6 separate regions of the Homo sapiens genome follow, and regions 1, 2, 3, 5 and 6 are each linked to region 4. Evidence: promoter capture Hi-C in 16 types of primary human blood cells and fetal thymus (Javierre and others, 2016). All regions are on one chromosome and are shown on one strand. The core of a region is centred on a gene start or on the middle of the fragment in contact, and the rest is flanking DNA. Distances in the headings are between cores, read along the strand shown.

Region 1 (4,512 bases), core at 1,371-3,870, 630 kb before region 4:
ACATGGTAAAAACCTGTCTCTACAAAAATTAGCCAGGCATGAGGGCGGGTGCCTGTAATCCCAGCTAGTCGGGAAGCTGAGGCAGGAGAATCGCTTGAACCCGGGAAGCAGAGGTTGCAGTGAGCCGAGATCATGCCACTGCACTCCAGCGTGGGCGACAGGGCAAGACTCCATCAAAAAAATAATAATAATACAGTACAATACAATATAATCTTGCAGCCATAAAAAAGAATGAGTTCATGTCCTTTGCAGGGACATGGATGAAGCTGGAAGCCATCATTCTCATCAGCAAACGAACACAGGAACAGAAAACCACACACCGCATGTTCTCACTCATAAGTGGGAACTGAACAATGAGAACACATCGACACAGGGAGGGGAACATCACACACCGTGGCCTGTTGGGGGGTGCGGGGCAAGGGAAGGGAGAGCATTAGGACAAATACCTAATGCATGTGGGGCTTAAAACCTAGATGATGGGTTGACAGGTGCAGCAAACCACCATGGCACATGTATACTTAGGTAACGAACCTGGACGTTCTACACATGTATCCTAGAACTTAAAGTAAAATTTAAAAAAATAAAATCTTCGGTTTTCACAGCTTTTGGGATTTTAGAATTGCAGATAAAGGATTATGGACTAACAACAAAAATGATCACACATGATAATGGCAGTGGCAATTGTTTATATAATGGCCACTACACACCAGACAGTATTCTAAGCACTGATATATTACAAACTCATTTAAACCTCTCAACCTTATGAAGTAGGTATTATTATCAATCTCATTTACAGCTGAGAAACTGAAGCAAATCACTTCAACTAAGGCAATGTGGTCTCAGGATGTGTGCTCTCTGTTACTCAGAAACAAAAGGTACACTTTTCTGAGGCCCTCTAGTGCAGGCACAAAGACACCATAGCTCTTACTGGATCTCCAGCCTATCACTCTAACACTAGCCAAGATAATAACTAATGTTAAAAATTATGACTTGGAGTCAACAAGGCTAAGATATATTTTATATACTTTATAAAAGCAAAGAAAGGTATACATTTTATAGTGAATTCTATTCGACACTGATTATAGGAAAAAAGAAATTAGTACTTTAAGGAAAGCAAACTCTTGGCTCTCCCCAAAATTACGTTATAAAAAAAGCTAAAATACCCAGTAGGGTTCTGCGTGGCTAAGGGTTTATTATATCATTCAAAAATTCAAATAGTAACTTTCAAATGATAATTTAAAGTCTCAGACAAAATCTGATACGTAGATTTTAAACAAAAATAATTCATCTAAAAAGCAACTGTTCAGAAAATGCTGCTGGGTTAATTACTTTTAACAATTTACCATACAAAATATTGCTTAAGACCCTCCAAAAAAATAGCTGGGCACAGTGGCTCACGCCTGTAATCCCAGCACTTTGGGAGGCTGAGGTGGGTGGACTGCTTGACCTGAGGAGTTCAACACCAGCCTGGGCAACGTGGTGAAACCCCATCTCTACCAAAAACACAAAAAATTAGCTGGGTGTGGTGACATGTGCCTGTGGTCCCTGATAATCAAGAGGCTGAGGTGGGAGGATGGCTTGAGCCTGGAAGGCAGAGGTTGCAGTGAGTCGAGATTGTGATATTGCACTCTAGCTTGGGCGACAGAGTGAGACGCTATCTCAAACAAACAAACAAAAATATTCCAGCCCAATGAGAGAAAAGAGAGAGAAATAATATCACAATGCAACTCACCGGATACTGTGGCTTTCCCAGAGATGGGGTTTGGTGTAGGCACGAGGGACGTGGCGCTGACGACGGTGGGGGTGGCAGCCTTGCAGGTTCCCACGGTGGCCTGGCTCACACACACTTGCTGCTGCCCAGAAGTTTTCGTTACAGAACTGACCGTAGATGAAGACACGGGAGCCATTCCTTCAGACTGCTCACCCATGGGGTCCGAAACAACACAGTTCAGGAAGAAAGCAGAGTGATGACTGACGGCGGTGACGGCCACACAGCACACACACTAAATATCATCTATTAGGTGTTAATGACTACTTAGTAAATGCCATACCATTTAAAAAAGATTACTTCTCTAGTTCAGTGGTTACTATACCTTTACATTTCATGGACCAAGAAAATTTAAAAAATTTAAAACAAGGAAGTATCATGGGGGTCATCATATTTTTAAAATTCACCACCTATTATATCCCTTTATAAAAGGCAACTTCATCACCAAAAAACTAGGAGGACATATTCTCAGAATATACACATGGACTAAAAATGAGCTTTATTAAGAACACATGACAATGATTCACTTCATTGAACAAACATCTACAGTCTGTCACTTCATTGAACAAACATCTACTACATGGCCGGCATAATGGTTAAGTGCTAAGGCTCTGAGAGAAAAGCGACCAAGGAAACAGTCACCTAAGTATAATGATGCTACGGCAAGCACAGGCAAATGTCACCAACACAACCAAGAAGAAAGGCACTGCTTCTGCCTAGGAATAGAAACAGGAGGGTACAGGAAAAAGCTTCAGGTAAAACATTAGGCACTTTAGAGGAATCTTCCAGATTTAAGACAGAGAAAGGGAGAGATGACAGTGTTTCCTGGCAGAGGAGAGTATGTAGAAAGTTGGTGAGGCATGAAAGAACATTGTATGTTCAAGAAGCTGCAAAGCAGAGTGGTGTCACCTGTGAAGAGGCACGGGGAAGCAGCAGCTGCAGGAGATGAAGCTTGAGAAGTCAAGCCACATCATTCAAGTCTGTGGGCTTCCAAGACGATTGAGAGATGGTTTTTCAACAAATGTTTCTAGGCCAACTGGATATTTACATAAAAAAGAATAAAGTTTGGTGTCTACCTCACACCACGTACAAAAATTAACTAGAGCGGCCAGGTGCAGTGGCTCATGCCTATAATCCCAGCACTTTGGGAGGCCAAAGCGGGTGGATCACGAGGTCAGGAGAGCAAGACCCTCCTGGCTAACATGGTGAAACCCCATCTCTACTAATACAAAAAAAAAAAAATTAGCTGGGCGTGGTGGTGGGTGCCTGTAATCTCAGCTACTCAGGAGGCTGAGGCAGGAGAATCACTTGAATCCAGGAGGTGGAGGTTGCAGTGAGCCGAGATCGCGCCACTGCACTCCAGCTTGGGTGACAGAGCGAGACTCTGTCTCAAAAAAAAAAAAAAAAAAAAAAAAAAAATTAACTCGAATGAATCTGAAACCTAAATATAAGAGCTAAATGTATAAAACTTAGAAGAAAACAAAGGCTTGAATTTTGTGGCTTTGGATTAGGCAATGGTTTCTCAGATGTGACATCAAAAGAAAAAGCAATGAAAGAAAAATAGGTAAGTTGGGACTTTAATAAAGACTTGTGCTGGGAAAACTGGATATCTTTATGCAGAAGAATGAAACTAGACCCCTAGCTCTCACCATGCAATCAAAATGGATTAAAGAGTTAAATCTAAGACATCAAACTACGAAACTACTACAAGAAAACATTAGGGAAACTCTCCAGGACATCGGTTTGGGCAAAGATTTCCTGAGTAGTACCTCAAAAGCACAGGCAACCAAAACAAAAATGTATAAATGGGATCACATCAAGTTAAAAAGCTTCTGCACAGCAAAGAAAACAATCAACAAAGAGACAGCCCACAGAATGGGAGGAAATACTGGCAAACTACATATACATCTGACAAGGGATTAATAATCAGAATATAGAAGCTCAAACAACTCTATAGAAAAAAGCCAAACAATCTCATTTGAAAATGGGCAAAAGATCTCAACACACATTTCTCAAAAGAAGACACATAAATGGCCCAAGGGGCATATAAAAAAATGCTCAACATCATTAATTGTGAGAGAAACACAAATCAAAACTACAATGAGAAAGCATCCCACCCAGTTAAAATGACTCTCATCCAAAAGGCTGGCGAGGATGTGAAGAGGGAACCCTCGTACACTGCTGGTGGGAATCTAAGTTAGTACAATCACGATAGAGAACAGTACAGAGGGTCCTCAAAAAACTGAAAATAGAACTACCATATGATCCACATCCCACTGCTAGGTATATACCCAAAACAAAGGAAATGAGTATATGAGGAGACGTCTGCACTTCCATGTTTATTACGGCACTATTCACAATAGCCAAGATTTGGAATCAACCTAAGTGTCCATCACCAGGTGAACGATAAAGAAAATGTGGTACATATACACAATACAATATTATTCCGTTATAAGAAAGAATGAAATCCTGTCATTTGCAACATGGATAGAACTGGAGGACATTATGTTAAGTGAAATAAGCCAGGCACAGAAAGACACATTTCACACGTTCTCACTCATGTGGGAGCTAACAATTAAAACAACTGAACCCATGAAGACAGAGAGAAGAATGGTGGTTACCAGAAGGTGGGAAGGCCAACAGCAGGGAGGGAGGGAGTGGGGATGGTTAATGGGTACAAAAATATAGTTAGAAGGGATGAGTAAGATCTAGTATTTGATAGCACAACAGGGTGACCAAAATTC
Region 2 (4,098 bases), core at 1,393-3,892, 550 kb before region 4:
GCAGAATTACTGAGGTAACAACATGTTTTAAAATAAAATTAGGCTGGCTGCGGTAACTCACGCCTGTAATCCCACCACTCTAGGAGGCTCAGGCAGGTGGATCACCTGAGGTCAGGAGTTCAAGACCAGGCTGGCCAACATGGTGAAACCTCGTCTCTACTAAAAATACAAAAAAATTAGCTGGGCATGGTGGCTCATGCCAGTAATCCCAGCTACTCAGGACGCTGAGGCATGAGAATCGCTTGAACCCAGAAGGCAGGTTGCAGTGAGCCGAGATTGTACCACTGCACTCCAGCCTGGGAGACAGGGTGAGACTCTGTCTCAAAAAATAAAATAAAATAAAATAAAATAAAATAAAATAAAAGAACATAAAATGCTAACTCAAAAATACTCATTTTGTATTCACTCAAAGTTAAAACAAAAATAACAATTTAGGCCGGGTGCAGTGGCTCATGCCTGTAATCCCAGCACTTTGGGAGGGCAAGGTAGGCGGATCATGAGGTCAGGAGTTCGAGACCAGCCTAGCCAACATGGTGAAAATCCATCTCTACTAAAAATACAAAAATTAGCCAGACGTGGTCATGTGAGCCTGTAATCCCAGCTACTCAGGAGGCTGAGGCAGGAGAATCGCTTGAACCCGGGAAATGGAGGCTGCAGTGAGCCGAGATCATGCCATTGCACTCCAGCCTGGGTGACAAAGCAAGACTCCATCTCAAAAAACAAAGAAAAAAAAAAAACACACTATTTAAAAGTCCCTCAGCTCTTAGTCCAGTTCTTTCACTCATCTCAGAAACAGACTCACTTGACTCAGCTAGGAGAGTGGCTCATTATGTAATGTTACATATGGAAGTCCCACATCTGAGAGAACACTTTTCCTACAGCTGTTATCTGCTGTTATATCACTAATCTTAAAAATATTCTAAAACCCCCAGAATTTATAAACATCATGAATCAAGCCATTTAATGTTTGTTCATATTCATCCGTTACCTGCTACAATTCAGAATATAAATGACTATTTTTGGACAGGCCCAGAACCCAACTATTATGTTTTATGTTTAAAGCTTTTTTTTTTTTTTTTTTGAGACAGAGTCTCGCTGTCTCCCAGGCTGGAGTGCAGTGGCGCGATCTCAGCTCACTGCAAGCTCCACCTCCCGGGTTCACGCCATTCTCCTGCCTCAGCCTCCCGAGTAGCTGGGACTACAGGTGCCCTCCACCACGCCCGGCTGATTTTTTTTTTGTATTTTTGTGGAGACGGGGTTTTACTGTGTTAGCCAGGATGGTCTCAATCTCCTGACCTCGTGATCCGCCCGCCTTGGCCTCCCAAAGTGCTGGGATTACAGGCATGAGCCACTGCGCCCAGCTGTTTAAAGCTTTTAAAAAGTAAAAGTAAGGTCTTGTTTCTTCAGCCTTCTCCATTTGGTCTGCAATTAATTTTAGACAGCCTCAGAAAATCTTGGGCTGTTACATAAAAAAGACAACTTTAAAAAAAAATAAACTTAATTTATTCTTCCTTAATGCAGATAGGAATCTAAAAACACCTAATTACACATGAACCTAGAATCAGAGGTGGATATAGCCCAGCAGATACCTAAACTTGTCCTTGTACCATACTACTTCCTCATCAGGCACCTGTCTTCCACAGTTTGCCAAGAGTCATAGGAGATTATCTACAAAGATGAGTCCCCCTCCAGCATCATCCTCACTTATCCATTCTACAGACTTCATAATCTGTATATTCTTATCCTACCTTCCAAGTAATCTCAAGAATAACGGTGGCTCCCACTAAAATGGCTGGGGATCCTTGAAGAAAAGTTATTTTTATTTTATCCTCACTTAAGGGACTTAAAAAAAAAACCCTCTCTTTGACTTTTGGTGTAAAACTGGAAGACTAGGAAGAGAAAAGAGAGGAATTTGGGGAGGGGGTGGGCAGAAAGGAAGAAACCAACAATGAGTTCATTTGTGCTGCCAAGATAATTCATTTTTTATGCAGCCTTTAGAATAAAGCTTTTCTTGTTGCATGTGGGCATATATTTGAGCTTCTTATAAACACATTTAAGAGGATTAAGCTCTATACTGGGCATTTAAAAATAATCCAGGTCTGCTTCTGTCTCACAAGAATAATAATGTGTAATGTGCACATGTCACATGCAAGTAACTGCTAGCTAGCTAAGACTAGGCACATCTGCTGAGGCATGCTCTCATGATGATATAATAAATAAGTGAACAGAATGTGTAACAAATGACCAATGATAACATTACCTTCTGGACTCTTCTTGTCTGACTTGTAGATTTTATGAAAAGGAAACATGAGCAGTTGTTAGATATGGTCAATTCAACTTGGAAACAAAATGTCCAGCTAATCCTCTATAGCTTCTGAATCAGCTGAAATTGAAAATACTGAGATGGTACTAGGAACTGCTAGGAAAAAAATCTGTTATCATATACAATTTGACTGTGAGAAAGAATTTTCTCTATACTCTGAGACAAAAACTGAATACGGAAATAAATGTAACGCTGCGACTAAAATAAGACTACTGTCATCCATTTCTCCAATTTAAACTTTTTATCTCGGGTCAGGCATGGTGGCTCACGCCTGTAATCCCAGCACTTTGGGAGGCCGAGGTGGGCGGATCACAAGGTCAGGAGATGAAGACCATCCTGGCTAACATGGGGAAACCCCGTCTCTACTAAAAAAAATACAAAAAATTAGCCGGGCGTGGTGGCGGGCACCTGTAGTCCTAGCTACTCCGGAGGCTAAGGCAGGAGAATGGCGTGAACCCGGAAGGTGGAGCTTGCAGTGAGCCGAGATCACGCCACTGCACTCCAGCCTGGGTGACAGAGCAAGACTCTGTCTCAAAAAAAAAAAAAAAAAAAATTTATCTCATTAAAACAGCCTCATTATAAAAAGTAAATGTGGGCAAGATGCAGAGGCTCAGGCCTGTAATCTCAGCACTTTGGGAGGCCAAGGCAGGTGGATCACTTGAGGTTAGGAGCTTGAAACCCACCTGGCCAACATGGTGAAACCCCATCTCTACTAAAAACACAAAAATTAGCCGGCCATGGTAGTGCATGCCTATAGTCCCAGCTACTCGGGAGGCTGAGGCACGAGAATCTCCTGAACCTGTGAGGAGGCAGAGGTTGCAGTGAGCCGAGATCATGCCACTGCACACCAGCCTGGGTGACAGAAACTTTATCTCAAAAAAAGAGTAAATGCTTTCAATTTAAATATAGAAAATAAATGATTTTTTCCATAAGTAACACAAGAAAACAAAGCTTTATAGAAGTAAATGCCATCAATTAAAACATACCATATCCATTCAAATAACATAACCAAGTCTGAGTTTTTGACAAAGGTTAGAAACCAAAAAGAAAACCAAACTTTTTTTTTTTGAGACAGAGTCTCACTTTTGTCGCCCAGGCTGGACTGCAATGGCATGATCTTGGCTCACTGCAACCTCTGCCTCCTGGGTTCAAGCTATTCTCCTGCCTCAACTGTCTGAGTAGCTGGGATTACTGGTGTGTGCCACCACTCTCAGCTCATTTTTTTATTTTTAGAAGAGACGGGATTTCACTATGTTGGCCAGGCTGGTCTCGAATCTCTGACCTTGTGATCCGCCCACCTCGGCCTCCCAAAATGCTGGGATTACAAGTGTGAGCCACCGCGCCTGGCCAAAAAAAATTTTTTTAGAGACAGAGTCTTACTCTGCCATCCAGACTGGAGTACAGTGGCACAAGCATAGCTCACTGCAACCTTGGAATCCTGGGCTCAAGTGATCCTCCTGCCTCAGCCTTCCGAGTAGATGGGACTACAGGTGTGTGCCCATACCTGCTAATCTTTTTATTTTTTAAAGAGACGGGGGTCTCACTATGTTGCCCAGAGTGGTCTTGAACTCCTGGCCTCAAGAGATCCTCTGGCCTTGGCCTTCCAAAGTGCTGAGATTTGTAAGCCACCACCCCTGGCCCCAAACAAAACATTTAATGTTTTATACTTTAAAATAAAACCCAAGAGAAAAATAATTTTGAAAAGAAAATTGTATAATAAAAACCATAAAGATGATGTAATGTACAGTCACTGGAAATTCGAGGTCTTAGCTCTC
Region 3 (4,280 bases), core at 187-2,686, 520 kb before region 4:
TCAGCACTAGGAAAATTTAATATCTAAGGCAATCACACAAATGTAAAATGTTCATATAAAACATTAAAAAATGTCTAAAGTGTCTCTGGAATTATTCATTCACACTCCTGGCTCAAATGGTTTCTGGTGCCTAGCATTAGATGTGACAATAATGATAGCTAGCTAGTCAAACCTACTGCCTTAAAGATCAACCAATTTGCTCCATTCTGGTTACTTGGCATGGTAAATTTATTTAACTAAAAAGAATAATGGGGTGAGGTGATGTAAACCTGGCTTTCAATAAGATGCACAACAAATTCTAATAAGGCCAAAACTCTGTTGAGGTTAACTGGTGTCTTGAGTTTACTAAAATAAAGGCAGTCCATAGGAAGCCTCAAAGAGACATTATCTTACCACTTGGCACCACAAAAACACCAAGCTCTCCTCTCTGAAAATACAGGCCGGGGGTGGTGGCTCACGCCTGTAATCCCAGCACTTTGGGAGGCCGAGGTGGGCGGATCACGTGGTCAGGAGTGATCCGTCTCTACTAAACCCCGTCTCTACTAAAAATACAAAAAAATTAGCCGGGTGTGGTGGCACGCACCTGTGGTCTCAGCTACTCGGGAGGCTGAGGCAGAATCCCTTGAACCCGGGAGGTGGAGGTTGCAGTCAGCTGAGATCGCGCCACTGCACTCCAGCCTGGGCGACAGAGCAAGACCCCGTTCTCCCCCCTTCCCCAAAAAAAAAAAAAAACGAAAAAAATACAGTTTGAAGTAGATGTCGTCTTTTCCACATATAAATCTCAAGACATAAAAGGCACACACAATTCAACTCCTCTCTTTTCATATATGGGTTCTCACAGCAATTTAAAAAATCTATTGCCATATCCAGACAACAGGAGAAAAAAAAAATACCTGGTTTGCTTATTGACAAAAGTGGTGTAATTGAACCTTTGTCTTTCCTGAGTTTCAAAAAGGCTATTTGACAGTAGAGATACATAAACAATTCATATTCAGTAAGATAAAATGTATCAGTCCACAAAACATTTTCATCTTTTTAAGTATAAAAGAATCAATGTTCAACCACCACCATGTGTGAAGCCCCTTTTTCCAAATTAAACTTACTCTAGAATCATGAATTGAAGATTATTCAGTCATGGCACTTTACACCCCAAACGAGCAAAAGTAACAAGTTAATACCCTCCCTGAGTATTTACATCATCTTATCACCTGGTTTAAATGGAGTAAATACCTATATTTCAATCATCTAGGAAATAAAAAGGTTACTGAAGATCCAATACACTAGTATTTCATACCTGTGCAGTAAAGTCAGTGGGAAGATTACAGTAGAAAAGGAGGAAGTTCTACTGTTGTAAAAATTAGACCACTTTTGTAGCTGACTCACATAGAGGAAAAACAGAAAATGATTAAAGTTCATGAAAAAAAAACTATACTTTTCTGTTCTACAAAGCATACCTTTGAATTCCCTTTCCAACTGAGGTATCACAGCTGGGTTTAGCAAACTCATCTCTTCTGACCTTGTAAAACTAAATTGTCATAAAGATTCTGATTATACATAAGTCATCGTTACTAATACTCATCATGTACTTTCAAATGTAAAAAGTTCTAGAAATGCCCAAATAAAAAAAAATTCCAGAATTGAATTTAGCATGGTCAACTAATTTTTACTTTATGTGCTTTTTTGCTGATCATCACAGACTGCTAAAATTCATGGTGTTTGGTATATATGTGTGTATACAACCATACTATCTACATACATACACATGTACATATATAGATTCTAAACCAAAGGTTCATATGAGCATCACCTATCAAAAGAAAAATCTTTATGTGATGAGAGAATGAATACAATCTGACACCAATTTGGTTGATATACCCCTTTTGATATATTAATTCTACTCTAAAATTCTTTTTTATTTTATCAAGTCTAATGCTATTATTTATCAAGAATTAGTAAAGGAAGATAAATATTAAAAAATTAAAATATTAAGTTGGGTAACTTTAAAAATAGTTATTTAAATTTTCTAAGATTCAACCTAAGTTCTTGGTGGCCTTCAATATAAATTTTAAGTACTTAATTTATGTAGTTTTAAATTATGTAGAGAAAAAATTAATATTGGTGTGAGGTCTGTGTTTAAAAAAATTCTGTTTTTCAGGATTTCATTTCAAATTTACTATAATAAACACATGGATATTAAAATAAATGTATAACAAAATAAAAGTAAATAGTTAATACTTTTTACAACAGAAAAATACTAGAATATAAAGTTGTCTTGAGAAAGTCTTTTTTTATGTGAAGTCCTATATTCATGAAATGGACATGATCTTACAAATACACATGAAAATAACAACTATCATTTGTAGAATCCTCAGCATTTACAAAATACTTTTTCACACATTATCTCATTTACTGTAAAGAATTTCTTAACTAAATAATTCTATTATCTATAAGAGTATAATGCAGATGTTTACTCTAAAATTAAAGTACAAGTATCCAAACTGTACCTACATTCTTTCAACTAAGAGGATAGAAAATTGTTTTCTGAATTGTTGTTATCACAAAATGGTATCTATCATTTTAAAATTATGATTTGAAAAATAAAAATTCCCTAAAAATTTTTAAGTTTTTTAGAGTTTTCCTCAGAATGTAGATTCTAGCTAAGCATTAAAGTTTAAAAAATGTCTATCTGAAATCTCTGAATCATTCTAAAATGAGAAAACAATGTAGCTTACCAATGTTAGGCTTTTTATTTCAACCTTGGTTTTAACAGAAATCTGGTGACACTTTAATTACATATTTGCATCATCCCTTCTATCACAAGAAATATACAAATTATAATGTGAAAGACAACAGTGACTGGAAGTCAAACTACAGCAGGCTACCTAGAACATCCCTAAATGTTGTAAATTATATCCGTCCACCCAGAATCACAATAATCACTTATGCTGTAGTTCCTGCCATATCCATTTATTTGCATTAGAAAAAAAATTCACATTCCTCTCTGAAAACTGATAAGCTTTATAAAGTGGAGTTGAGAAATCTAGACAAAAGCAGTCTGTTGTACAGAAGCTTGAAAATGTTGATTAGTATTTTACACAATGGGGACCAAATGAAAGACTTACCTTAAAGATGGGAACTACTGCTAAGTTTTTTCAGATAACTAATTTTAAAAGAAAAATGGACCCACTGAGATAGGTGGTCCCTGCTTTATCCTATTAAAGGTACCTTAACAGTAGAGACTCTCAGGAATTTTAGCTGTTCACTAGAAAGTGGGATAATCAAGGAAGAGGTCCTCACCCAAAGCACCATACTAATGAGGTCAAACTCTACTGGGCTAGGAAGGAAAACCTATCCCTATTTTTCTTTTTCTTTTCTCTTGAGACAGTGTCGCAACCTGTTGCCCAGGCTAGGGTGCCGTGTGCGTTCATAGCTCACTGTAGCCTCAGACTCCTGGGCTCAAGCAATCCTCCTGCCCCAGCCTGCTGAGTAGTTGGGAGTACAGGTGTGAGTCTCTGTACCTGGCTGTCTGTCCCTGTTTTTCACAAAACAATATTGCAAAATGGGTTTCCACTGCTTTATCAAGTTAAGAAAAGAGGCTTTCTTAGAGGATTGAAGAGATGATGCATAAAAACTTTGAGAGCCATAGTGGGTCATTTTTCCTTCAAAGGCCATTCCATTTTTCTCTTAGGAATTAACTTGTAATTTTAATCCCCCTTGTAGGGGCACTTATTTTTCTATCTCCTACCTAACTTCCCCCTAAAAACATGTTTAATGTAAGACAGCAATTCTAAGAATAAAGTCACAATAGTTCAGTATTTTATGATGCCTGAATTGTTGTCATTACATTTTTATCAATTACAGAAAAAAACCCTTCAATAAAATTAACCAATCTGGATATACTTTGTTAACAACAAAGGTTTTTAAAACTGATTTTTTCTCCTAGAATGCATCCTAAGCATTAACTTCTTCAACCTAAATGATGCCTCAAGTCATGCAATTTTCTCTACATATATGACAAAATAAGGAATATACATACAGATAAACATACATAATAAGTGAAGACACCATTCACACGCTCCTAAAAGGTATGCAGACAGACATTTCCTAATTCACATAGACTTCTTACAAATACTTACAAAGGTACACTCTTCAAAGGCCAAGTAACAACCACCATTACCTTTAACAAAAAAGTTTTTTTTTTCAATTATAGGAAAGGCTTTATTATAGTTTGAAAGATTGATATTTTGAGGAGAAAGGCACCAAATTATTATTTTTACTAT
Region 4 (4,005 bases), core at 677-3,176:
TAATAGAGGAAGGAGATAAGACATTAAAAGGTTGCCTGTCAGCGTTGTTGAGCCGTGGGCCGTGGCTTACGCCTGTAATCCCAATGGTTGGCTAACGCAGGAGGATCATTTGAGGCCAGGAACTCGAGACCAGCCTGGGCAACACAGCGAGACCTCCTCTCTACATAAAATAAAATAAAATAGCTGGGCGTGGTGGCACGCGCCTTTGGTCCCAGCTACTCAGGAGGCTAAGGTGGGAGACTCACTTGAGGCCAGGAGGTCGAAGTTGCAGTGAGCCGAGATCACGCCACTGCACTCCAGCCTGGGTGATAGAGCGAGACCCTGACTCCAAAAAAAAAAAAAAAACGATATTGTGTGTTTTTTGTTCCAGGATTTTCTGGTCTGTAAAACCACCTGGGGCCAGGCACAGTGGCTCACGCTTGTAATCCCAGATCTTTGGAAGGCCGAGGCGGGCGGATCACCTGGGGTCAGGAGTTTGAGACCAGCTTGGCCAACACGGTGAAACCTGGTCTCTACTAAAAATACAAAAAATTAGCCGGACGTGGTGGCGCACATCTGTAATCCCAGCTACTGTGGAGGCTGAGGCAGGAGAATCGCCTGAACCCAAGTTTGCAGTGAGCCGAGATCACGCCATTGCCCTCCAGCCTGGGCGACAGAGTGAGACCCTGTCTCAAAAACAAAAACAAAAACAAACAAACAAAAACAAAGAAAGAAAAAGAAAAAAGAAAATAAAAAAACACACTGGGAGTGGGCATTATTATGTCCGTTTTACAGCTGAAGAATCCAAGGCTCCTAGAGGTTCCCCGACGCCGCACGCCGGGGAGTCGGCAGCGCGAGCTCCCAGCCAGACCTAGCGCCTCTGGGCTGTGCTCCTGTTGCTTCCCGCAAACCGCGGTCCTGGCGAGGCCTGGGCGTGGAGCGCGGCTGCCGCAGACTCCCTGGGAAGACATGGAGTCAGGGTGCTTAGGGGTTTTTAGGCTCCTGCTCGCCTAGTGGCTGGCTTTCTCCCGGCTGAGAAGCGTCTCTGGGTTCCCAGAAAGGTACCCGAGCTGTTAGAAAAGAGGAGACCCTGGGCCGGGCGCAGTGGCTCACGCCTGTAATCCCAACACTTTGGGAGGCCGAGGCGGGCGGATCACAAGGTCAGGAGATCGAGACCAGCCTGGCCAACAGGGTGAAACCCCGTCTCTACTAAAATACAAAAATTAGCTGGGCGTGGTGGCGGGCGCCTGTAACCCCAGCTACTCGGGAGGCTGCGGCAGGAGAATCGCTTGAACCAGGGCAGTGAGCCGAGATCCCGCCACTGCACTCCAGCCTGGCGACAGAGCGAGACTTTGTCTCAAAAAACAAAACAAAACAAAACAAAACAAAAGAAATAAAAAGAAAAGAAATAAAAGAGGAGACCCTGGCCGGGCTCGGTGGCTCACGTCTATAATCCCAGCACTTTGGGAGGTCGAGGCGGGCGAATCACGAGGTCAGGAGCTCGAGACCAGCCTGGCCAATATGGTGACACCCCGTCTCTACTAAAAATACAAAAATTAGCCGGGTGTGGTGGTGCATGCCTGTAATCCCAGCTACTCGGGAGGCTGAGGCAGAAGAATCGCTTGAACCCGGGAGGCAGAGGTTGTAGTGAGCCGAGATCGCGCCACTGCACTCCACCCTGGGCGACAGAGCGAGACTTCGTCTCAAAAAGAAAAGAAAAAGAAAGGAGGAGACCCAGGGTATGAGCGGAGGAGGCCGGCGCTGCCGGGACCACGCGCGTGCGGTAAACGGTCCCAGAGGCCCGGGCCCCGGCGGCTGCGCCGAGTCCCCGCCCCTCCCTGCTCCGTAGGGGTAGGAGGGGGCCGGCGGAGTTTCCCTCCCCGCCCAGCGGCCCTGGGCGGGCTTTTCGGCTGCTTCTCATAAGCAGGTGGTTTCGTTTCTCCGGCACAGGTAGGTTTCTCTGGCACCGATTCGGGGCCTGCCCGGACTTCGCCGCACGCTGCAGAACCTCGCCCAGCGCCCACCATGCCCCGGCAGCTCAGCGCGGCGGCCGCGCTCTTCGCGTCCCTGGCCGGTGAGTGGCCCTCAGCGCTTCCCGCGGTGGCCCTGACGTGTCGGTCCCCTTTCATCTAAACGCACTCTGGAGTCCCGGGCGCCACAGGACGGGCTGCGGGTAGGGAGGTGTGGCGCGTCCAAGGGCTTCCCAGCTGGAACTTGTTTTCCGTGAGTTACTCAGAGCAGGTGTCAACCCCAAAGACAGTGACACTGTCCCTCGCTTCCAAAAGGGTTCTGGACACCTTCTCAGGGAGAGTTTGTAGAGGTCACTCGGATTTAAGAGATGGAGACCTGAGCTAGGGTTTAGGAATGGGAGTCTTGGCTTTGTTATCCGGGAAAAGCGCTCCTGTCTTGCTTTTCCTTGCATCAGATGTGGTCTGACAGATTGTGCCATTTCAGAAAGGTGTAGGAAGAGTGTCAAAGACTTTTTTTTTTTTAAATGATCATTGTACTTCCCATCCCAGATGCCGTCTGGGACGCTGAGTTTATGATTATTTTATGATCCGACCCTCCGCTTTCTCCAGAGCTTTTCCCCCTAGACATTGAGTCCTCGGGTGCTGTGGTGTTGTCCCTGTGATGAAGTTTCCTGGTTACTCGAACGTCATGAGAGAACTGTCTCCGTCCCTACCGCCCGGCTAACATGCTCAAGCAGGGGGCGCGGTGGCCCTTGCTTGTAACATGAATGCTAGGAATGTTAGGGAAGAGGTGAGAAGGGTCGTGCCAGCTGCCCTTGCCTAGGCAGTTCTCCCCTGCGCCACACTTTCACACTTACAGTTTCAGGTTCTTTTAGGGGACAGAAGAGGAAGTCATCATCACGCTCCACAGGGCAAGCTATTAAAAAAGCAAAACAATCTCAGCCTAGCGGTAACCCACAGTGACCTGTATGTGAGCGCTCCTTGAATGGATGGATAGGCTCAGAAACACAATGGTATTGACAGGCCAGGCGTGGTGGCTCACACCTGCAATCCCAGCACTTTGGGAGGCTGAGGCCGGCGGATCACTTGAGGTCAGGAGTTCGAGACTAGCCTGGCCACCGGTGAAACCCCGCCTCTACTAAAAATACAGAAATTAGCCGGGCATGGTTGTGGGCGCCTGTAATCCCAGGTACTCGGGAGACTGAGGCAGGAGAATCACTTGAACCCAAGAGGCGGAGGTTGCAGTAAGCCAAGATCATGCCACTGCACTCCAACCTAGGTAACAGTGAGACTCTGTCTCAAAAAAAATAAATAAATAAAAATAAAAATACAGTGAGTATTGACAAATGCAAGGGCAAGTGGAGAGAAAATGCCCACATTACCGGTTCCTTTCTGAGCTACAAATTCTCAGAGGTGAGCTAGGTGAAGGATGCATCAGAGGTTTCTTCCTCAGAGGTGGAGGCCTTTGAGGGGTGGCACGGAACTGGATTCAAACCCTTGCCCTGACCCTTCCCAGCAGGGAGGCCTTGTTCACATCACCCAACCTTTCGGGTGCTCAGTTCCCTCACTGAAAAATGGGGAGAATAATATCCTCTGCTAGGAGTACTGGGGAAACAAATGAGGTAGCACCTGGACAGCAATTACTGCAGTGATTTTGCTCAGTGATGTTAACTCGTATCTCCTGTTTGTCCCTCCAGTCCCTCTCCCATTCACCTCACAACCTGACCTTGAGCCCCTTCTTCACTCAGTACAGGGCTCATCAGCACATGGTAATTAACAATGATGGACATGGCTTCCTGGCACTCTCTGCATGCCAGGCACTGTTCGCAGTGCTTTAATCCACAAAACAGCTTTGTAAGTACTGCTATTGTCTCCGTTTTACTTGCGAGGAAATAGAAGCACAAAGAGGTTAAATAACTTGCCCCTGATCACATAGCTAGCTGGTGACAGAGTCGAGCTTTGAACCAGAGTCTGTGCCCATAGCAGCTAACCTATGTGCTTTACTCATACATCTACTTACCTATAACTTATTTAGTCTCATAAGAACCCTGAAAAG
Region 5 (4,239 bases), core at 146-2,645, 590 kb before region 4:
GGAGGCCGAGGCAGGCGGATCACCTGAGGTTGTGAGTTCGAGACCAGCCTGACCAACATGGAGAAACCCTGTCTCTACTAAAAATACAAAATTAGCTGGGTGTGGTGGCGCATGCCTGTAATCCCAGCTCCTCGAGAGGCTGAGGCAGGAGAATCGCTTGAACCCGGGTGGCGGAGTGAGCCGAGATCGTGCCATTGCACTCCAGCCTGGGCAACAAGAGCAAAACTCTGTCTCAAAAAAAAAAAAAAAAAAAAAAAAAAAAAGAAAGGAAGGAAGAAAATCAGTAAGTAAACAGCTAGATTTAAGAACCTGGTGTCTTGTTTTGAATAGGAAAATATGAAATTCACCTACCCAGAATAAAAGTCTCTGTCAATACTATGTCACAGCCGTAACCCAGAAAGATTCGTGTTCCCGCAAAATACTCTCAAAAGTTACTGACAGTTAAACATCCTCTACTGTCTTTTATTGATCAAACGTCATCCATGAATTTCTTTAAACTTCAAATCAATTTATATGTTCAGCCTATTCCACCTCTGAAGTAGCAAGTTCCAAAATTTTTCTACCTGGTAGGTAAAATTGCCTACCAATGACAGGGGACGGTGGCTCACGCCTGTAACCGGAGCACTTTGGGAGGCCAAGGTAGGTGGATCACCTGAGGTCAGGAGTTCAAGACCAGCCTGGCCAATATGGTGAAACTCCGTCTCTACTAAAAATACAAAATTAGCTGGGAGTGGTGACACGTGCCTGCAGTCCCAGCTACTTGGGAGGCTGAGCCAGGAGAATCACTTGAACCCGAGAGAGGTGGAGGCTGCAGTGAGCTGAGATCGCGCCATTGCACTCCAGCGTAGGTGACAAGAGTGAAACTCCATCTCAAAAAAAAAAAATTGCCTACCAATTAGAAGCTATTTATCTCTCATCAAAGATTTGGATCCTATTTCTACTTAGCTGTCTACTTACAACACCAAACATTCTTTTTTTCCCCCCTTCATTTAACTATTATACAGAAGTCCTCATACTTCCTGGTTATTTCCAATTGCCTTTTAACAAACATGTTTTGTTCTAAGGTGGAACAGTCAAAACCATATATTCCTACTAAATTTTACCTAACATAAAATGAAACTATCACAAGGCAAAAGATAATCCAATCTTAGTGAACAAGACAACTCAGAACTACCTACTGACAATAGGAATGAATAATTTTCTAGTGTGGTTACAGACAGAATAAAGCATTTCAATTCCCAACCAACTCTAACCCTTAAAATTTAACTCCATGCCAAAGGCCTCTAAATTTTTTCTATCACTAGTCACTGTGGTTTCCATGTATATAATCCCCAAACACGATTCCTACACCTTAGTTTCAGCCATATATCCTAGCAAACATTTTACCTGTGCTGATTCTGGCAGACAAAAATTTGACCATTTGAGTTTCATTTATCTCCTCCATTCATTTCCGTATGAATGAGCTTTGTTTTTGCCTTGTGACAGCTTTGCCAATCAACAGTGATAAACTTCCTTTTGTTAAACATAACACTGCTTAGAAGAACTTAAGAGAAAAAAAGCCAAGTATTTTGTTTTGTTGTTCCAACAATTTTAACATCCAGTCAACTCCACATACACTGTCTTCAAAACATCTGCATACCTGACACAATCTTGCAGCTCATGGTGATGGGCTGGAAGGATTTTCCAGGTGACTCAGGATTAGGAACCTGACTTTGTGGAACAATTTTGCAGCTTGATGCTATTGGCTGGAAAGCTGAATTGCCATGGGAACAAAAGGTAACTTTCTGGGATGTAGTCATTTTGGTGGGTGTTCTTTCCAATGAAGATGGCAAAGCATAAAACGGAGTGTGTCGTTCAGCTTCAGTGCTAGCTGGGAATCCTGCTTGAGATGAAAGAGGCAAACGGCAAGTCATCAATCGCTTTGAAATAAAACCTTACCGTTGTGGAAAAAGAATAAAAATGCATTATTTCAACACCATTTTAAACCATGTACTGGTAGCAAAATAAATACAATCAATCATCCCTTCATATTTTTGGTGAAAAATATATATGCTTAGAATAATGTTTAAAGTGCTTTTTTAAAAAAACTTGAAAACATTATTAACTATAAACCATGTATAACATAAAAAGAACAAAAGTTCTTATGTTCCTCCATTTTTTAATATATAAACTGAAAAACTGTTTAGAGAAGAAAAAATCTTAGAAAGCATTCACTAAATCTAATGATATCCTCCTATCTTATTTATTTACTTATTTTTGAGACATTATTTCACTTGTCACCCAGGCTAGAGTGCAGTGGTGTGATCTCAGCTCACTGCTACCTCCACCTCCCGGGTTCAAGCAATTCTTGTGCCTCAGCCTCCGGAATAGCTGGGATTACAGGTATGCACCACCATCCCTGGCTAATTTTTGTATTTTTAGTAGAGACGGGGTTTTGCCATGTTGGCCAGGCTGGTCTTGAACTCCTGACCTCAGGTGATCCGATGGTTTCAGCCTCCCAAAAGGCTGGGAATTACAGGCATGAGCCACCGTGCCCGGCCCCTCTTGTATCTTATTAAATGCCCATAAAAAAGATGCAATTGAAATCTAAAGAGGAATAAAGTTGAGATTTTATAAAAGAACTATAATACTAACCACATTAAAATATAGGCTTAGAAATAAAACATTTAAGATCAATTTTATATCTTTTATGCTTATATATGGGAACATTAAAATATGTATTTATACACATATATTTGTTAAATTTAAAAATGGCATGGTCAAAATACATTGTTGGTGATGAATCTTTTCTTAAGTAAAACCAGGTATTTAATATCCAAGTTTCTTGCTCGCACAATCAGAAGCTGAACCATAAAGTCTTCCTGTAATACATTATAAGGAATTATCAAGTGATAAAAATCTGTTTTAGGCCAGGCGTGGTGGGTCATGCCTGTAATCCCAGCACTTTGGGAGGCCAAGGTGGGTGGATCACCTGAGGTCATGAGTTCGAGACCAGCCTGGCCAACATGGTGAAAACCCATCTCTACTAAAAATACAAAAATTAGCCGAGAGCGGTGGTGGACGCCTGTAATCCTAGCTAACAGGGAGGCTGAGGCAGGAGAATTGCTTGAACCCAGGAGGTGGAGGTTGCAGTGAGGCGAGATCATGCCACTGCACTCCAGCCTGGGCAACAGAGCAAGACTCCATCTCAAAATAAAATAAAATAAAAATAAATTTAAAAATCTTATGTTTTTTAGCTATTTTTACATTTTATAATATGTCAGTAAAACTTCATGGAAATTTTTTTTTTTTTTTTTGAGATGGAGTCTCGCTCTGTTGTCCAGGCTGGAGTGCAGTGGTACCATCTCAGCTCACTGCAAGCTCCACCTCCCGGGTTCGAGCCATTCTCCTGCCTCAGCCTCCCGAGTAGCTGGGACTACAGGCACCCACCATCACACCCAGCTAAATTTTTGTATTTTTAGTAGAGACGGGGTTTCACCGTGTTAGTCAGGATGGTCTTAATCTCCTGACCTCATGATCCACCCGCCTTGGCCTCCCAAAGTGCTGGGATTACAGGTGTGAACCACAGCTCCCGGCCGGAAAAATATTTTTGACAAGAGTGGAAATTTGGCTTTCATAACAGAACTGTGTAGTAGAGGCAGCATGTCCACTTATAGCAAAGTTATTTTCCATATACTATAGGTCTCTGAAAGCAGCAAATGGGAAAGGAATGCCTCAGAACAACGCTATGCAAGGAAAACTGCTGTATTACCTTTCTCCACAGAGGTATCGGGTACTGGCTCATGTGACTGCTTTATTGGTGAAGAAGCTTTCACTGGGGCTGGAATGGTCAAAGGCAAAGATGGAGGGGCATCAGAGATGTCAGACTCCGAGGACTGAGGATAGATACAGTCTTCTCCGAGAGAATGGCGATGGAGTTCAACATCCACTACCTAGACAATTGGGCAACAATCAGGCTCATGAGTCCATCATCAATGTCACAGAAAGCTCAAGTCCCGTCCAAGAATGTAATCTCCGGGATGTGAGAGATAACTTCTAATCACACTTCAAAGGCAATTTCAATCTGAAGAACTAAAGGATTTATTCTAGAAGGTAATCTAATCTGGCTTAACAGACACATACCTCAGTGAAAATCTAATCTGGTTTAACATACAAATCTCAGTGAAATTATTCACAAAATTGGGACCTCTTGATTTTGCTGTTGCTACTCCTTACAACGCTATTCCTCCAAATCTTTGC
Region 6 (4,613 bases), core at 1,573-4,072, 610 kb before region 4:
GGGGAGTTTGCTTGAGGATGTAAGATGTGTAAGTCAGGTGCTGAGATATCCCTCCAGGGCCAGCAGTACTTTGAGTTCCTCCTCCTGCTGTTCCTCCTCCTCCTCCTGTGCTGCCGCCTCCACCGCTGCCACTGCCGCCTCCTCCTCCTCCTCCTCCTCCTCCTCCGGCACCACTCCCACCACTGGCAGCTGAGCCAGACTGGAGATCTAAAAATACAATGAATGACAGCAACATCATAAAAAGTATCAAGCAAAGCTTTAGCATAAAAAACAAATGAGCCCAGAGAGATGTTTCCCTTTTAGTGCCATTCCTTCTTCTTTCCCATTTTCCTCCGTCTTTTCTGTAATCTACCTACCCTGTGACAAGAGTGAGGAGAACTTCCTAGATTTTAGATCAAAATCTATTTCCTTTCAACTGCATGACAACTGACTGTATTTCGGCTCTGAGTACAATGAAGATACTTTGACGTGGTCGTGGGAGATCAAGAGAAGGCTTGCTACTGACATTTTCTAGCCAAGTATTTTTTTGAGACGGAGTCTCACTCTGTCGCCAGGCTGGAGTGCAATGGCAAGATCTTGGCTCACTGCAACCTCTGCCTCCCGGGTTCAAGCGATTCTCCTGCCTCAGCCTCCCAAGGAGCTGGGACTACAGGCGTGTGCCACCATGCCCAGCTAATTTTGTATTTTTAGTAGAGAGGGGGTTTCACCATGTTGGACAGGATGGTCTCGATCTCCTGACCTCATGATCCGCCCGCCTTGGCCCTCCAAAGTGCTGGGATTGCAGGTGTGAGCCACTGCACCCAGCCTCTAGCCAAGTATTTTAATCAACACTTAAATGTGCTCAGCTAGGTGCTTCCCAACTTTTGGGCATCTGATTCAATGTCAGGGAATTGCTGGAATTTAGTGTAACTTTACAGTGCTCGATGTTGTCTCCCTGTCTCAGGAAAAATGAAGACTTTCCTTCATTTACAATGACTCCAGGACCCCATTCTTCTTTGCCTTTCAAATCCCACTTCAAAGCCTTGAAGTCTTTTTACTTCTCTTTTGGTGAGATAATGCATTTGAACTACCTGGACTATGAATATTCACTCAACAAATACTAACTTCCAATTTCCTTCTCCACCTTCATTCCAGTGATTATTGGAATAGCTTCCTTCCCAATGGTTTATTTTTGCACCAAGGATATCACAAGAATCTAAGTAGCTCCCTGGATGACTTCTGAAATATTTACATTGTCCTTTTCTTACACATTTAACTTTTGGACATACCACTGCTTAGGTATGAGGAAAAAACACCAAGTGAGAGTGGAACTGACACATCATGGTCAATGAACGCAAGGATGATGAGCTGACACACTGCATTTTGGCAAGGGCGGTTAACTTCCAATGACCCTGAATGCTGTACCCTTCTACTTCTGATTCAGAGGGAAATAATTTCCTTTTATCCTATCCTTTTCAACACTGCCCAAACGGTTTTTCTCTATATGTCAAAGCAAAAGTTTCTTTAACTGCAGATAAACTGCCTCATTTCCATGGGGCTTTAAGACTTACAAACCTAGGTAGAGTCTGTATTTCTCTTTCCATCTCCAAACCTAGCAGAAGTAAGGAATACATCCAAACCAGCTGTCCCCAAGCTTTGTGGCACCAGGGACCAGTTTCATGGAAGACAACTTTTCCATGAATTGGGACAGGAGGCGGGGGGTGGTTTGGGGAAGAAATTGTTCCACCTCAGATCATCAGGCATTAGATTCTCATAAGGAGCACACAACCTAGATCCCTCGCATGCACAGTTCTCAACAGGGTTCGCGCTCCTGTGAGAATCTGATGCCACTGCTGATCTGACAGGAGGCGGAGCTCAGGCAGTAATGCTTCTTCGTCCATGCTCAACTTCTGCTGTGCGGCCCAGGGGTTGGGGACCCCTGATCTAAATGAAGTCAAACAGACACACTCGATTCCAATCCTATGCCAACCTATCCCCAAAAACAGACTTCCAGCTTCTATAAGTAGATGGATCTTCCCTCAGGTATCACCAGATAATTTTCAGACACCACTTCATTCATGGTTCATGTAGACAGCTTTCTCCCAACAGCCTCACCAGCCATCTCTCTCCAGAGTGATTCATCTCTGATTGCAAACGCTGAGGAGCAAACCCACTTCTAGTTAAATTATCGTATGTGTTAAATCCATCTGAGCAAATGCTACCATTACACCACCCAACAGAGTTACAGAAATGCTTCCTGAAACAGGTAAGAACTGCCCTCAGATGGACAAGATGAACACACATAGAGAACCAAGAACCAAATGATTCAACCCAATGGTTTCACTAACTAGCATTGTTCGTAGCTCGCAGGATGGCTCCTTGAGGGATCAGCAGCAGTTTTCCTTTTCCTGAAGGGTTCTTGCTGTTTGTAGTTAGGTAGAGTTTAGTGCCAGGAGGCAAATTTGCCAAGTTGGCCAAATTAGTGGCTGGTAGCTGCAACGTTGCCATTACTAAAATGGTAAAGGAGAAAAAATTGTAAGATAAATTGAAACTAAGGGCAACACTCTAAAATTAAAATACAAGGCAATAAATTCTTATTTTAGAACACTAACAAGCAATAAATTCAAAGTTTGTTTCCCAGATGCACAATGCTTTAAAGACTGATATTCTTAAATATCTTGCTAATTAAAAAATAATTTATAGACCAGAAGAGCCTGCCAGAGGCTCTTTATATCTGTATATAATAGGATGATCGTACGTCCTGGTTCTGCCCAGAACAGTTCTAGGTTACACCTGTCCCACTATAATTATTAATAATGACTCTTTTTACTCTCCAAAGTACTGTGGTTTGGACGATTAATGAAATAATCACCCTGTCTATGGAGGATTACATATTTTCCCCCATTTGTTTAAAGTCAAAGTTAGGGCAAATGTGTGCTCCTAACTGGCAAGTACCATTGGCCCTCTGTATCTGTGGATTTCACATCCATGGATGTAACCTACCTCAGATAAAAAATATCCATATATTTGGCAGACAAAAGGATGAGTACATCTGTACTGAACATGTACAGACTTTTTTCTTGTCATTATTCCTTAAACAACACAGTGTAACAACTATTTACATAGCATATACATTGTTATTACATTGTTATTTACATTGTTATTAGGTATTAAGATAACCTAGAGATGATATAAAGTAAAGTACATCAGAGGATGTACATAGGTTATACGTAAACAGTACAGCATTTTACACAGGGGACTGTGGATTAGCATCTGTGGATTTTGCTATCTGCAGCAGGGGGTCCTGGAACCAATCCCCCACAGTACTGAGAAATGATTTGTTCGTGTGTGTGTGTGTATGTGGGTGTGTGTGTGTGTGTGTGTAAATTTAAAGCTAAATACTCACAGACCTTTATGTAAAATGTCCCATAAAAAAGAACAAACATTTCAATACACTTCTTACAGCATCAACCTAACTAGGCTTTCCTAGACCAGATCAAATAGCAAATAAAATCACTAGCAAAGGAAATTTTGGACAGAGCTTCTGCTGAAAGGGCTCCCAGTGATGATCCGTTTTACCTGAACCCTGGGATCCACTCTTCTGAGGACCAGCGGCAGTAACCTGGGCCTTGGTTAAGGTCTGCACTGGCTGAGCAACAATGGTTCCTCCACCTCCACTCACAATTGCTTTGGCAACTCCTTGGGTTACAACTTGCTTTGGCCCAACTGCTTTGGAGACAGAAGAGCTGGCCTTGGCTACCAGGATCTGGCCACCACTGATCGCCACAGCCTGCTTCACTGTTGAAGGTAAAGCAGACCCAACTGGTACCCCGACAACCTGTTCAAAACAGAGCAGAGTCCAACGGTGCTTCGAGAGCTCTTAGAACAGCAGTCACCGTTTTGGCAGAGAGCAAAACAAAGGCCTGCACATAATACATGCAGCCTAATTCAGTCATCTAGGAAAGCTACCTACACAGGTGTGAACGGCAACTGTATTTCTTACACTTGGGTATTACAATAATAGAAGCTTAACAATTGTTGTCTTGCCTCAGCTACTTTTTATAATTTACTTTAATAGAAAATTTGGGAAATTCAGAAGTATAAAGAAAAAAGTTTGGCCGGGCGTGGTGGCTCATGCCTGTAATCCCAGCACTTTGGGAGGCCAAGGCAGGAGGAGCATTTGTGGTCAGGAGTTCGAGACCAGCCTGGCCAACATGGTGAAATCCAATCTCTACTAAAAATACAAAAATTAGCTGGGCATGGTGGCACACACCTGTAGTCCCAGCTACTCTGGAGGCTGAGGTAGGAGAATCCCCTGAACCTAGGATGTGGAGGTTGCAGTGAGCCAAGATCATGCCACTGCACTCCAGCCTGGGTGACAGAGTGAGACTCTGTCTAAAAAAAAAAAAAAAAAAAAAAAAAAATTAGCCAGTACAGTGGCACACATCTGTAGTCCCAGCTATTCAGGAGGCTGAGGCAGGGGAGGATCCCTTGAGCCTAGGAGTTCAAGGCTGCACTGAGCCGTGATCACACCACTGCCCTCCAGCCTGGGTGACAGAGCAAGACCCTAAGAAAAGAAAAAAAAAAAAAAAAAAAAAAGGCAAGAATAATATTTAACTATTAAAAAAAAAAAA

Evidence for each region. Contacts are between HindIII fragments. The CHiCAGO score rates a contact against its expected background, and 5 or more counts as called.
Region 1: a fragment that was not itself captured here is called in contact with the fragment with the promoter of LAMP3 in region 4 in 4 of 17 cell types (activated CD4 T cells, naive CD4 T cells, erythroblasts and 1 more); the score reaches 7.1 in activated CD4 T cells.
Region 2: a contact is called between a fragment that was not itself captured here and the fragment with the promoter of LAMP3 in region 4, in 1 of 17 cell types (erythroblasts). The highest score is 5.9, in erythroblasts.
Region 3: a fragment that was not itself captured here is called in contact with the fragment with the promoter of LAMP3 in region 4 in 1 of 17 cell types (neutrophils); the score reaches 5.4 in neutrophils.
Region 5: a contact is called between a fragment that was not itself captured here and the fragment with the promoter of LAMP3 in region 4, in 3 of 17 cell types (erythroblasts, activated CD4 T cells and M1 macrophages). The highest score is 7.7, in erythroblasts.
Region 6: a fragment that was not itself captured here is called in contact with the fragment with the promoter of LAMP3 in region 4 in 2 of 17 cell types (activated CD4 T cells and naive CD4 T cells); the score reaches 5.3 in activated CD4 T cells.

Annotation. Positions count from the first base shown.
Region 1 is chr3:183,788,201-183,792,712 of GRCh38, reverse strand. It overlaps YEATS2 (YEATS domain containing 2), which reads right to left. Exons shown (of 31, transcript NM_018023.5): 21 at 1,733-1,916. Among named protein-coding and RNA genes, the nearest start is that of YEATS2-AS1, 20 kb to the left of the region's middle. The HindIII fragment of the contact is 202 bases long and covers 2,520-2,721 here.
Region 2 is chr3:183,708,454-183,712,551 of GRCh38, reverse strand. All of the region lies in intron 1 of YEATS2 (YEATS domain containing 2), which reads right to left. Among named protein-coding and RNA genes, the nearest start is that of YEATS2, 13 kb to the right of the region's middle. The HindIII fragment of the contact is 1,269 bases long and covers 2,008-3,276 here.
Region 3 is chr3:183,679,390-183,683,669 of GRCh38, reverse strand. KLHL24 (kelch like family member 24) reads right to left here. Exons shown (of 8, transcript NM_017644.3): 8 at 1-4,280. Among named protein-coding and RNA genes, the nearest start is that of YEATS2, 16 kb to the left of the region's middle. The HindIII fragment of the contact is 3,164 bases long and covers 1-3,018 here.
Region 4 is chr3:183,160,655-183,164,659 of GRCh38, reverse strand. LAMP3 (lysosomal associated membrane protein 3) reads left to right here and starts at 1,926. Exons shown (of 6, transcript NM_014398.4): 1 at 1,926-2,053. The coding sequence starts at 2,005. RefSeq lists a silencer at 1,716-1,925 and an enhancer at 2,538-2,747. The HindIII fragment of the contact is 7,998 bases long and covers 1-4,005 here.
Region 5 is chr3:183,751,766-183,756,004 of GRCh38, reverse strand. YEATS2 (YEATS domain containing 2) reads right to left here. Exons shown (of 31, transcript NM_018023.5): 10 at 3,752-3,932; 11 at 1,640-1,879. Among named protein-coding and RNA genes, the nearest start is that of YEATS2, 56 kb to the right of the region's middle. The HindIII fragment of the contact is 4,831 bases long and covers 1-3,810 here.
Region 6 is chr3:183,771,509-183,776,121 of GRCh38, reverse strand. YEATS2 (YEATS domain containing 2) reads right to left here. Exons shown (of 31, transcript NM_018023.5): 16 at 3,559-3,817; 17 at 2,328-2,489; 18 at 1-207. Among named protein-coding and RNA genes, the nearest start is that of YEATS2-AS1, 37 kb to the left of the region's middle. The HindIII fragment of the contact is 2,373 bases long and covers 1,636-4,008 here.